Regions from separate parts of the Homo sapiens genome. Here region 2 is linked to region 1. Evidence: promoter capture Hi-C in human tissues and cell types (Jung and others, 2019). All regions are on one chromosome and are shown on one strand. Each heading gives the region's core, a stretch centred on a gene start or on the middle of the fragment in contact. The rest is flanking DNA. Distances are from core to core; before and after follow the strand shown.

Evidence for each region. Contacts are between HindIII fragments. The study calls those that stand out against the background at their distance.
Region 2: a contact is called between a fragment that was not itself captured here and the fragment with the promoter of ADNP in region 1, in 1 of the 25 tissues and cell types used here (lymphoblastoid cells).

The regions. Positions count from the first base shown.
Region 1 is chr20:50,927,537-50,933,624 of GRCh38, forward strand. ADNP (activity dependent neuroprotector homeobox) reads right to left here and starts at 3,901. Exons shown (of 6, transcript NM_001282531.3): 1 at 3,290-3,901; 2 at 1,115-1,289. It overlaps ADNP-AS1 (ADNP antisense RNA 1), which reads left to right and starts at 3,448. Exons shown (of 3, transcript NR_110009.1): 1 at 3,448-3,518; 2 at 3,839-3,913. RefSeq lists silencers at 3,120-3,299, 3,440-3,489, 3,640-3,859, 4,159-4,346, 4,210-4,389 and 2 more and enhancers at 2,730-3,520, 3,940-4,059. The HindIII fragment of the contact is 17,322 bases long and covers 1-6,088 here.
Region 2 is chr20:52,170,884-52,176,178 of GRCh38, forward strand. All of the region lies in intron 2 of ZFP64 (ZFP64 zinc finger protein), which reads right to left. Among named protein-coding and RNA genes, the nearest start is that of ZFP64, 18 kb to the right of the region's middle. The HindIII fragment of the contact is 6,575 bases long and covers 1-5,295 here.

The DNA.
Region 1 (6,088 bases), core at 2,651-5,150:
AGTCTTCAAGCCCAATTGTTTCACTTTTTTTTTTTTTTTGGTAGAGACAGGGTCTCATTATGTTGCCCAAGCTGGTCTTGAACTCCTGGCCTCAAGTGATTCTCCTGCCTCAGCCTCCCAAAGTTTTGGGATTACAGGCGTAAGCCACCTCACCTGGCCTCACCTTATTTTTTGAGTGTTAAAACCAAGAAACCTTTGAAACAGTAGAATACATGCTTTCTAAGAGCTCACAGCAAGTTTTCCTTTAAGGGAAAATGGCTGTTACCACTTAGGACATCATTCAACACTGTATCCCATTCGCTAAATCAAACAAAAGCCCCTCAACAAACTTCATTTCAAACATTCCGTCAAATAAGTTGTCTTCAAATTATATGGTCATTTTCAGAACTTAAATAACTGCATATAAAACACCAAATAAAGATAAAAACTATACCTGCCTACAAATACTATACAGTATTTAAAAATTTAAATAATCCCATTTAAATATGTGATTTTTCACAATGACTAAGAAATTGTAGAAGCAATGTCTCTAGTCAAATACCTGTACCAAAGGGCCTCCTTTTCACTCACCAAAATGTTACCTGGTAGCAATTCTCCAATGAAAAATTCTCCTGTTAAGCACCAACTGGTTAACTAGGTATCAAAGAATACACCCATTCAGTTCTCCATAAACTTATCTTGGTGTATTTATGTAACATACAAAGTCTTAAAGGTACCCACAAACATCAACCACTGTCAATCTTTGGTAGCAAGAACAAGTTCATGGAAAACCATGTTTTCATCAGACATTTAAGGCTTTTAGAAGCTTAGCAACTCTAGAGATTGGGTTATCAAAGTAATAGTAACTGAATACTTATACTTTATACAAAGGGGTGTAGAATGCAAATGATTACAATATTAGCATCTGTAAAAATTTCTCTTAAAAAAGCTGTAAGTAATTTCTTATGTTAATAAGTGTTCAGAACCCACTACTGCAACCAGCTCTAACCGGTTCCTTGAGGAATGTGGCTAGGCTGAAATTTTGGAAGTGTTGGTTTTGGTGGTGACCAAGGAGAAGGAAGTCTCTGGCTTCCCTGTTGCTGCAGTTCCCACCCTCCAAAATGAATATACCCACCGGTGTGAATTGACAATGTGGTCCAAAGAGCAAGGCAGGAAACGGAGTCCAGATCCTCAAAATGGTAGTACAGGGCATAACCACTAGGCCACCTATCAGTTCAGTACAAAAAGTACAACCCTGCGCATCATGGTGTAAAAGCTGGGGCCTAGGTTTCGCATTGTGCATCTCACACCTATGGAAATAACAAGAGGAGTAAAATCTATGGAAATCAACACACCCTAAGAAGGTGGGTGCTCACAGAAGACTGGTATCAACATTTTTGTAAAGGTGGTTGGCTGCTGAGATAATGAATGGCAATTACAAGTCCAAATTTGGAGGGAAACGAAATTTTTACAATCAACACTTGAGTTCGACAATGAAGAACCCAACATGGGCTTGATGTTTACCAACAAGGCTTTGCAAATCATGACACCCATCTACACACTTAATCCAACATCTCTCAAGAATGATTTTTAACTCTCAAAGAATTGGAAAGATTTGGCCTATGAAGAAGGGAGTTAACCAGCTATGCCCCCAAACCTGTTACTTTGTTTCAAACCTTCTCCTTTACCACCAGACTTAGGAAAGATATGGTGACACATTCAAAACTTGAGGTGGAAGAACTCCAGAGGAAGGGAATCCGAACCAAGGATGTGCCAAGGTGATTCGTCAAGAACAAATATGGACTGGGGGCCAACAGTTTTGAAAAAGTAAAAGGAGAAAACTTCTAAAATGCAGGGTGGGCTCTTTAAAAGAAGTAAAATCACTGCTCTTGACTCACTTAATCCTTCGCCATGTTGCTGTCAGCTCACCAACTAAGAGTGCGAGTGTGTCTTGCTGGGCCCATTTTCCCATGGTCTGTAGAAGGCGCTGTGAAGCACATCCTGTTCTAGCTCGGGGGCCCTTCCCCCCTCTGCAGCCTTACCCAGTGCAGAGAATGCGCCCCCTACTGACTCCAACACTCATCGCCTTTAGCCGACTTGGCTGCGGTGCATTTTGGGTGGGGGCTGGTATTTTCTCCATGGCCATAAACCAGAAGCAACAATGCAGATTTCTAAAGAAACTGTATCAAGCTATCCAAGAGATTTTTTTTTTTTTCATTCTGAAGGTTCAAGATACAGGCACAAGAAGCATCAGGGATGGGAACTGGGTGTGTGGGGATGGACATCATTAACATGACAAACACAGAAACAGTTTGGTTCTTTTTCCCTCCTAAGCCTTTGTCTGTGAAATGGGGTTATGGCAAGAAGTGTCCAGAGTAACTGGTAAATTCAAGAAGATTAAGAAGACTTCGTGTGTGGGGGGTGTGTGTGTGTGGCTAAAAAGGATATCAGACCTAGAGTCTTGGTCTTGGGCAGAAGAGGAAGAGAAGCAATCGCGCCTTTTCCAGCAGACAGGGATCAAGGTTGGGGGGGAGGGGAAGGCAGGCAGGCCTCCCAGAGGAAAGAAGAGGTGAATACGAGTGTGTTCACAAAACTACTCCCCATTCATTACATTAAAAAAAAATCTTTTTGCAGCTCTCTGGATTTCCATTTTCTACCACCTTACTGCAAAGTTGGGGCTCAGAATGTTCGAAAGAGGTGCTGACCAGGCAGCTGAGATTGGGGAAAAGGGATGGTGGTGAACTGTGGTCAGGATAAGAGGAAAGCTGGCAGGTTGGGGAAGAAGGATTGCACAGGGGAGGCAAAGACTCACTCCATGCCATGCATGCTCCCCGCCCCCCCCAACCCCGTCCCCCCTCCCCCAGGTAAGGGTGGGCAGACCTGGCAGAAGGCTGGTTCAAGGCATGGGGGTGTGCGTGGGGGGGCTCCTTTTGGGGGTGGGGGGCGGACGGGATTAGTTCCAGGATGGGAGAAGCTCGGTTCTGGCTGGGGGAGATGCCCTTAGCTGCAAAAGCTCCGGGCGGCCAGGCAGAGTGCTGGCCTCGGTGGGCTCACAGGGCGGAGAAGGGGGTCGGGCTGCAGGAGGAGGCGCCTGGACCTCCGGAGCAGAGTCGGGTAGCGGTCCGTGCCGGGACGGGGGACCCGTCGGCGCCGGGGTGTGCAAAGGAGCGTGTGTGCGGCTGGAGGGCGGCGATGCGAACAACAATGCGCCCGCGCCCGGGGCCAGGCTGCACTGGCGGCCGCGCGGGCCGGGGTCGGGAAGCCAGGCAGGGCAGGGCCGCGGGTCCGCGCGCGGCGGCGCCGGGCTTACCTTGACTCGGCCTCGAGGCGCGCGCGGGGCCGGCGTGCTCGGGGGCCGGACAGCGGCGGCGGCGGCGGGCGGATGGCGGCGGCACGGCGGTGGCGGCAGCGGGGAGGGCGCGCCCGGGGCCTCGTCGCGCTCCGGCTCGGCGGACTCCGGCTCGCGCCGCGGCCGCGGGTGCTGCCGGGGGGCGCGGCGGGCGCAGCAGAGCGGCGGGCGGCGGCGGCGTCGTCGAGCGGTGCAGACAAAGGAGGGGCGGAGGGAGGAGACGGAGGGTGTGGGAGAGGCGGCTTCACCGGCGCGGGCGGCGGCGGCCGCGCTCCTCTCGCTCCTCAGCAGCGGGGACCGAGAGAGGGAGCTGTGTCTGAGAAGACGCCAAAATCCCCCTTAGCGCTGCCTGCGGGAGGGGGAGGGGGCACAAGATGGCGGCGGCCGGGGGGGGGGGGGCGGGAGTTCAGCTCATGGATCCCGGCGGGCGGCGGAGGGGAGACCGGGCCGGCGGAGGCGGCGGCGGCAACGGGCGGGGGAGGGGGCTGATCCCGCGTCTCCCCTCAGCAGACAATACAAGCGCCTCGGACCGAGTCCCCGAACCTGCCCTAGCCAAAATGGCGGCCGAGAAAGAGCGGAAGTGACGTAAGTGCCTCATTAGCATAAGAGGACTCATTGTCCAGCTAAATAGGGGGGGGCAGTGGGGACAGCACCCCTAACCCCCTTTTCCCCAGGGGGGGTTCCTCTTACTCCCACCCCTGCTTGCACCTAACTTTTCCTGAGGGAGGGTGCTCTCAGCACCCCCACCCCCGCTTGAGGGAAATTATATAATCCCCACTGAGGGGGGAGCTCTCGCGAGAACCAGGCGGATTTGCCATTGACCCACTAGGAGGCGCCGCGGATAATGGCCGCAGTGCGCTCCCGGGGCCCGTGTGCTCGGCGGGCGCCTTCCTCTGGCCGCAGCGCCGGCGGCGGAGGCAGAAGCAGCGGGCCGCAGCACGCCCAGCACTCAGTCAGGTGGCCGTGCTGGGGATCCCTGCGCGGGCCCAGCTGGGCCTGGACTACATCTGGCGGGAGGGGTGTGCGGGGCGGCCTGGGGCGGCTCCACGTGCTCAGATGCCCGCGCTTCCACGGCTGAGAAGCGGCGGGAAGGCGCCGGGACACCTGGCCGGTCGCCCCTGACGCCTCCTGCCTTAAATGAGGTGTGAGGGCCTCGTGCTTCACACAGCGACTTGAGATGAGACACAACCCCATGGATGCCTTAGCCCTTCCTGGTGGGGTATTCGGTGCAGAGGGGCCGAGATTTTATTAAGGTCCGCCGTTACCCTGTGACTTGACATTCTTCCCAGTCACAGTGATGGACTCTTCTCTGACCTGAATAAAAAAAAAAATGGGAATCCTAGTGCCTTGAGGCCACCCAACTGGTGAAACTTAAGGATGAGAAGTGATGTTGCCAATAGGGGCATTGGCTCTCTGCAAGATCCTTAAACAACACACTTTGTAGTCCTAGGGACATAGCTTTTGGTGCTCCCACAATCTGGGTAGCATAAGACAGCACATGGTTGCTTTGTAAATTTAGGTCAATCCCAACCAATACATTATCTCCTCAACATTTTTGAACCAACCTTTTAAAGTAGGTTGTTCAAAGTAACATTATGATTTAAAGTATCATTGGTTGGTTAAATGTATTGACAAGTAATAGATGTCAATAGTGAGGAATTAACCAAGCCTGTTTCCTTAATATGTGATCTTTAGGTAAATACACCTGTCTTTTGCTGTTTCTTTACATTTCAAGTTAACATAGTTTCAAGCCATACTTAACATCCGAAAATAATCTGAGTTCGCTGCAAGTAGTATAAATTGTGGTTACACATAGCTGTTCAACATCTAAGACTTCAGTTAGCCCTGTTTAACAAACTTTTATACAACACATTTCTGCAATTGTGATAAAATGTATCTTTAAAAGCCAAGTCAGTATTTCAAGGGAAAACAGCTGAAAAAAGTCGTGGAAAAAGGGGTTGGGGCAAAGCATTTGATTCAGAAAACTAAAGAATCTAATTACACACTGCAGAAGACAGATAAAAACTAATATGAAATAAGCAAAGTAAGTTTAAGTTTAGTTTTTCTTAGATATACTTAGATTCCATATAGTGATAATACAAATACAAGGGAAAACATCTGGATTTCATCTTTGGCCTCATTTACAAAGCAAAATGGGATGCTGGATTCAGATGTAAATATTTAATTTTACAGTGTTTAAGCACCAGATTTACTACAAAAATGCATCTAAATATTCCAGATTCTTTTCTAAATGACTTCCAAATGCTATGAGTCTTCACTGCTCAAATACTCTATGGTAAATTCCAAGAGTGACAGTGTTGTGATAATGATTGTGTGAATAACTAAAAAGATTTAAAAGGCAAACATTATCTACTCTAGTGAGTATCTGAGAAGGCAGTACTATCTATATTAGGTTCTCTAAGGTTGTTACTTAATTTCTGCTCCACATACTTGACACTGAGAACTCAACTTTGAGTTTAGGTTAAGAAAAAATAAATTCTAACCACTCCAAAAAAACTGAGAATATTACATTTCTATTATCTTAGCTTAAAACTAATTTCACATCAAGCACTGATGAATTTTCTTCTTGTTATGAATGAGAGAAGTTTCTTCCCTAAGGAAAGCAGTTCCCTCACTGGCCAGCTGGACAGTTCTGGACATAAGGGAAACAGAACAAGAGTGGCCCTTATTGGAATGTGTACTATGGGTTCAACTATAGAAGCGTGGGAGGGGGTGGTTTTAATGTTCGAAATGACACCA
Region 2 (5,295 bases), core at 1,298-3,797, 1.2 Mb after region 1:
TAAATATATAGTGTGCAAATCAAGTGGTGTAAATATTACAGAGAAAAATAAAGCAGGGAAGGGAACCAGGAAATGCTGGTGGGCATGCAATTTTAAGTAGGTCCAGGAAGGCCTCAGTGAGAAGGTAACATTTGAATATAAAACATGGAAGCATATAATTATTATATTAATAGTATTCTGTTGCAGGTGTCCAGAATTCAATAGCAACAAAGGGGCATTGGGTGCTGAAGACTCTCATCCAGATGGTCGGCTTGCTGGCGCCTCCTAGCTGGATTTATCAAGGGTATCCCTTCCCACACACGTGGCCTTTCTAGAATCTGCTGTGAACAGCAGGACCTGCAGAGACACCCCAGGGAAAGGCTTATGGTAATCACTGAGGGACTGCTGGCAACCAGAGGCCTCCTCATCCCCTTTGGTTGTTTGCATGTGATTTGATGCCGGAGTCGCCACTCATCCCCAGGGGGTGTGTGTGCATATGTGTATGTGTATGTGTATGTGTCTGTGTATGCGTATGCGTATGTGTATGCGTATGTGTATGTGTATGTGTCTGTGTGTGCGTATGTGTGAGCATGCATGGTCAGACTGACCTTGGACCAATTTGGGTGTTTTATTTCATTTTTTTTTTAGATGGAGTCTCGCTCTGTTGCCCAGGCTGGAGTGCAACGGCGCCATCTTGGCTCACTGCAACCTCCGCCTCCCGGGTTCAAGTGATTCTCCTGCTTCAGCCTCCCTAGTGGCTGGGATTACAGGCACACACCACCACACCTGGCTAATTTTTGTATTTTTAGTAGAGACAGAGTTTCACCATGTTGGCCAGGCTGTTCTCAAACTTCTGACCTAAGGTGATCTGCCTGCCTCGGCCTCCCCAATTTTTTTTTTTTTGAGATGCAGTCTCGCTCTGTCACCCAGGCTGGAGTGCAATGGCGTGATCTCGGCTCATTGCAATCTCTGCCTCCTGGGTTCAAGCGATTCTCCCGCCTCAACCTCCTGAGTAGCTGGGACTACAGGTGCCTGCCACAGTGCCCAGCTAGTTTTTGTATTTTTAGTAGAGATAGAATTGCACCATGTTGGCCAGGCTGGTCTCACACTCCTGCCTCAGGTGATGTGCCCGCCTCGGCCTCCCAAAGTGTTGGGATTACAGGCGTGAGCCACCGCGCCCGACCAACTGGGTGTTTGTATGCAATTTGATGCCAGAGTAGCCACTCATCCCCAGGTGAGTGTATGTGTGTGTGTGTAGTGGACCTTGGACCAACCTGGGTGTGTGCATGTGATTTGATGCTGCAGTCACCACTCATTGCCAGGGGTGTGTGTGTGTGTGTTGGTGTGTGTGTGTGTGTTTGTGTGTGTGTGTGTGTACAGTCAGATTGACCCTGGGCCAACCTCTGTCTCCTCTCACTAGCTATAGGGCCTTGACCAAGTCACTTCTCTGCTCTTCAGTTCTTTTGTCGGTAAAATGGGGATATTGCAGTGATCTCAGAGCTTAGATCTTGTTGTTCTAGTAAAGATTCAAGGGAAGGATAAGGCATACTGCAAGTCGGGCACACTGCAAGTTCTTGAGAATTCTCAGTGGACATTACGGTAACTATGCATAATAGGTTATTATTTATCTGTATTCAGGTTTGGCATAATGAGTGGCATGGGCCTTGGGGAATCTCAGAGCACCCTAGAAGAAGGTGAAACGCCCCACATCTGCTGAGGCGGGATGACTCATAACCTTGGGGGGAAGTGCTTCCAGTAGAGGCGTGACTTGCCCACGCCCCAAGAATATTCTCTAGTCCCTCTTTTCACCGAGAATGCAGCACGGGCCACCTCTTTATGTGGGGGTCTTATGTCTAACTTTTTGCAAGAGCTCAGGGCTTCAGCCTCTACCCTGGTGTGGCCATTAAAATCAAGCCTCCTGTTTAGTGAGATCAGACCCTGTCCCCGATACCCCAAGAAGCTCACAGCCTCACACACCTGCTGCAGCTTTCAGGTTTGTTTTCTGGCTCCAGGGGATTTCCCTTCTTTCCTGCATGTTCAGGTGTGCATCTGAGAATTGCTTATTGTATTTAGTTCTGGTTTGTAGCAGGGGCATATTCAGTTATTTGATCATGATGTTGTTTAAAATGTATGACTGTTATATGAATTTCATGAAATAGATAATCCACATCTATTTCTCTGAAGTTTGTCTCTGTGGAGTCTTAGGGCTCACATGAACCAACCATAGCTCCTTTTCTACCAAATTGCCTTTCAGACATCTCAAGACAGCTTTGATATCTCCCTATCTAATTTGCTTCCCCCTTCCCTTCTTCAACTTAAAAATTCCATTTAACAAATCCTTTTCTCTTTTTAAATGACAATGTTTATTTTTGCAAAATAAAAGTTAACATGAATTTTAGGATTTTCTTCTCTACACAGAAAAGTTGAGAGAAGAAAAAACTAGGCTAAGTGTAGTGGCTCATGCCTGTAATCCCAGCAATTTGGGAGGCTGAGGCAGGATGATCACTTGAGACCAGGAGTTTGAGACCAGCCTGAGCAACACAGGGAGACGCCGTCTCCACAAAACCATACAAAAAATAGCTGGGTGTGATGCTGTGTGCCTGTAGTTTCAGCTAATTGTGGGGCTGAGGTGGAAGGATGGCTTAAGCTCAGGAGTTCCAGGCTGCAGTGAGCTATGATTGCACCACTGCACTTCAGCCTGGGTGACAGAGCAAGACCGTCTCTAGAAAAACAAAACAAAAAACTTCCCAATGCTGTCAAAACATGGCAATATACATCCTTGCTTTTTTTTTTTTCTTTTTTTTTGAGACGGAGTCTGGCTCTGTTGCCAGGCTGAAGTGCAGTGGTGCAGTCTTGGCTCACAGCAACCTCCGCTACCCAGGTTCAAGTGATTCTCCTGCCTCAGCCTCCTGAGTGGCTGGGACTAAAGGTGTGCGCCACCATGCCTGGCTAATTTTTGTATTTTTAGCAGAGATGGGGGTTTCACCATGTTGGTCAGGCTCATCTTGAACTCCCGACCTCAAGTAATCTCCCTGCCTTGATCTCCAAAAGTGCTGGGATTACAGATGTGAGCCACCGGTGCCCAGCCTACATCCTTACTTTTTATACAAAGCTCCTATCGCTACTGTGATTAAATACTTATTTGAGAAATTATTAAATGACTATTCTCTCTTCTATTTGGTTGGAGGAGTTAAGTGAGGACAGACCCTTGTTTCTTTCCATTACTGTTCCCCCTGCACCCACCACAGAACCAGGTGAAGGGGAGGAGCTCAAAGAACATTTGTTTAATTAATGATCAGCTAAAGGGCTAACCTCTTTTATATATAGAAAATATATTTTAGGGCCGGGAGCGGTGGCTCACGCCTGTAATCCCAACACTTTTGGTGGCTGAGGCAGGCGGATCACCTGAGGTCGGGAGTTCGAGACCAGCCTGGCCAACATGGCAAAACTTTGTCTCTACTAAAAATACAAAAATTAGCTGGGTGTGGTGGTGGGTACCTGTAATCCCAGCTACTCGGGAGGCTGAGGCAGAATTGCTTGAACCCGGGAGGCGGAGGTTGCAGTGGGCCAAGATCGCGTCATTGCGCTCCAGCCTGGGCAACAGAGTGAGGCTCCATCTCAAAAAAAAAAAAAAAAAAAAAAGTATATTTTAAAAGTATAAAACTAGGATCATGGCTTAAATCATTTAATATATATTTTTAATGAAACACTTTTGCCATGTTAAAACATCTTATCATGTTGTCATTCATCGAAAACACAACCTCTAATGGCCACATAATATTTCATCATTTTGGTTGCTGAATAGTTTAACCATTTCCCTTTCTTGGACATGGAGGAGACATCTAGGAATTGACTTTTATGAGTAAAACCTGTCCAGAAGTTTAAATTTATCCCTCATTTCTTTGGGTACATTCCTTGAAATTGAAGACTTGGGTTAAAATGGTACAGATGTTTTATTACTTGGTGATTATATAATTATAACATCCTTTCAGAAAACTGAAATTATTTGCATTTTCCCCTTAACCTTGGCTGTCACAGAGACGACTTGAGAGGACAAAATGAGATCACTTGAGTTTAACTTGCATTTCCTTTACATGTAATTAGTGAGATTAAACTCCCTTTCAACATTTATTTTTCCAATGACATGCCTTATTTGGTGAACTTCCTGTTTATTCTATTAGCTCATTTTTTCTATTGGAATTTTAATTTTTTTCTTGATTTGTAAATGCTTTTTGCAGATTAAGGATACTATCTTTTGTTTTGTTTTGTTTTGTTTTTGAGACAGGGTCTGGCTCTATCTCCCAGGCTGGAGGGCAGTGGCACCATCTCGGCTCACTGCAATATCTGCCTCCCAGGTTCAAGTGATTCTCCTGCCTAAGCTTCCTGAGTAGCTGGGATAACAGGTATGCGCCACCACGCCCAGCTAATTTTTGTATTTTTTGTAGAGACGGGGTTTCGCCATGTTGGCCAGCCTGGTCTTGAACTCCCAGACTCAAGCGATCCTCCCTCCTTGGCCTCCCAAAGTGCTGGGAGTCCAGGCAAGCGCCACCGCGCCCAGCAGGATATTATCATATATTCAGGTCTCTTGATTTTTTTGTGTATGTTGTTTTTTGCAGTGTCGTTCATGCTTAGGATTCTCATTTAGGGTTCTTGATCTCCAGGCAAGTATCCCAACTGTAAACTCAGAATTCACTGTCTGAGGCCGGGCATGGCGGCTCACGCCTGTAATCCCAGCACTGTGGGAGCCCGAGGCGGTCGGATCCCTTGAGGCCAGGAGTTTGAGACCAGCCTGGCCAACATGGTGAAACCCTGTCTCTGCTACAATACAAAAATTAGCCGGACGTGGTGGTGGGCGCCTGGAATCCCAGGCACGTGGGAGGCTGAGGCAGGAGAATCGCTTGAACCCAGGAGGCAGAGGTTGCAGTGAGCCGAGATCGCACTACACTCCAGCCTGGGTGGCAGAGTGAGACTCCGTTCCCTTCCCCCCGCACCCCCGCTGCCGCCCCCGCCCCCAAAATAATTCATTTTCTGAGAGAAAAGAGAAAATCCACCCCTTTCACTTACGCTGTTCCCAAACGGCCTTTACCGTCCACAGTGGGCGTTAGACCGGCCCAAATGTCCCTCCCCAGGGGTGAGTGGCGCTGCCCTGTTGGAAGCCCTGACCACGCCCCAGCTCTGCCTTTGCTGATTGGTGCAGTGGAAGACACCTGACAGCAACTGGGCCAATCGAGTCTCTTGCTCTGAAATTGAATCCTGCAGCCAGGCGTATTGGCGGCTGCCGTTAAAGTCCCAACTATGACCCAGACTGAGGTGGGA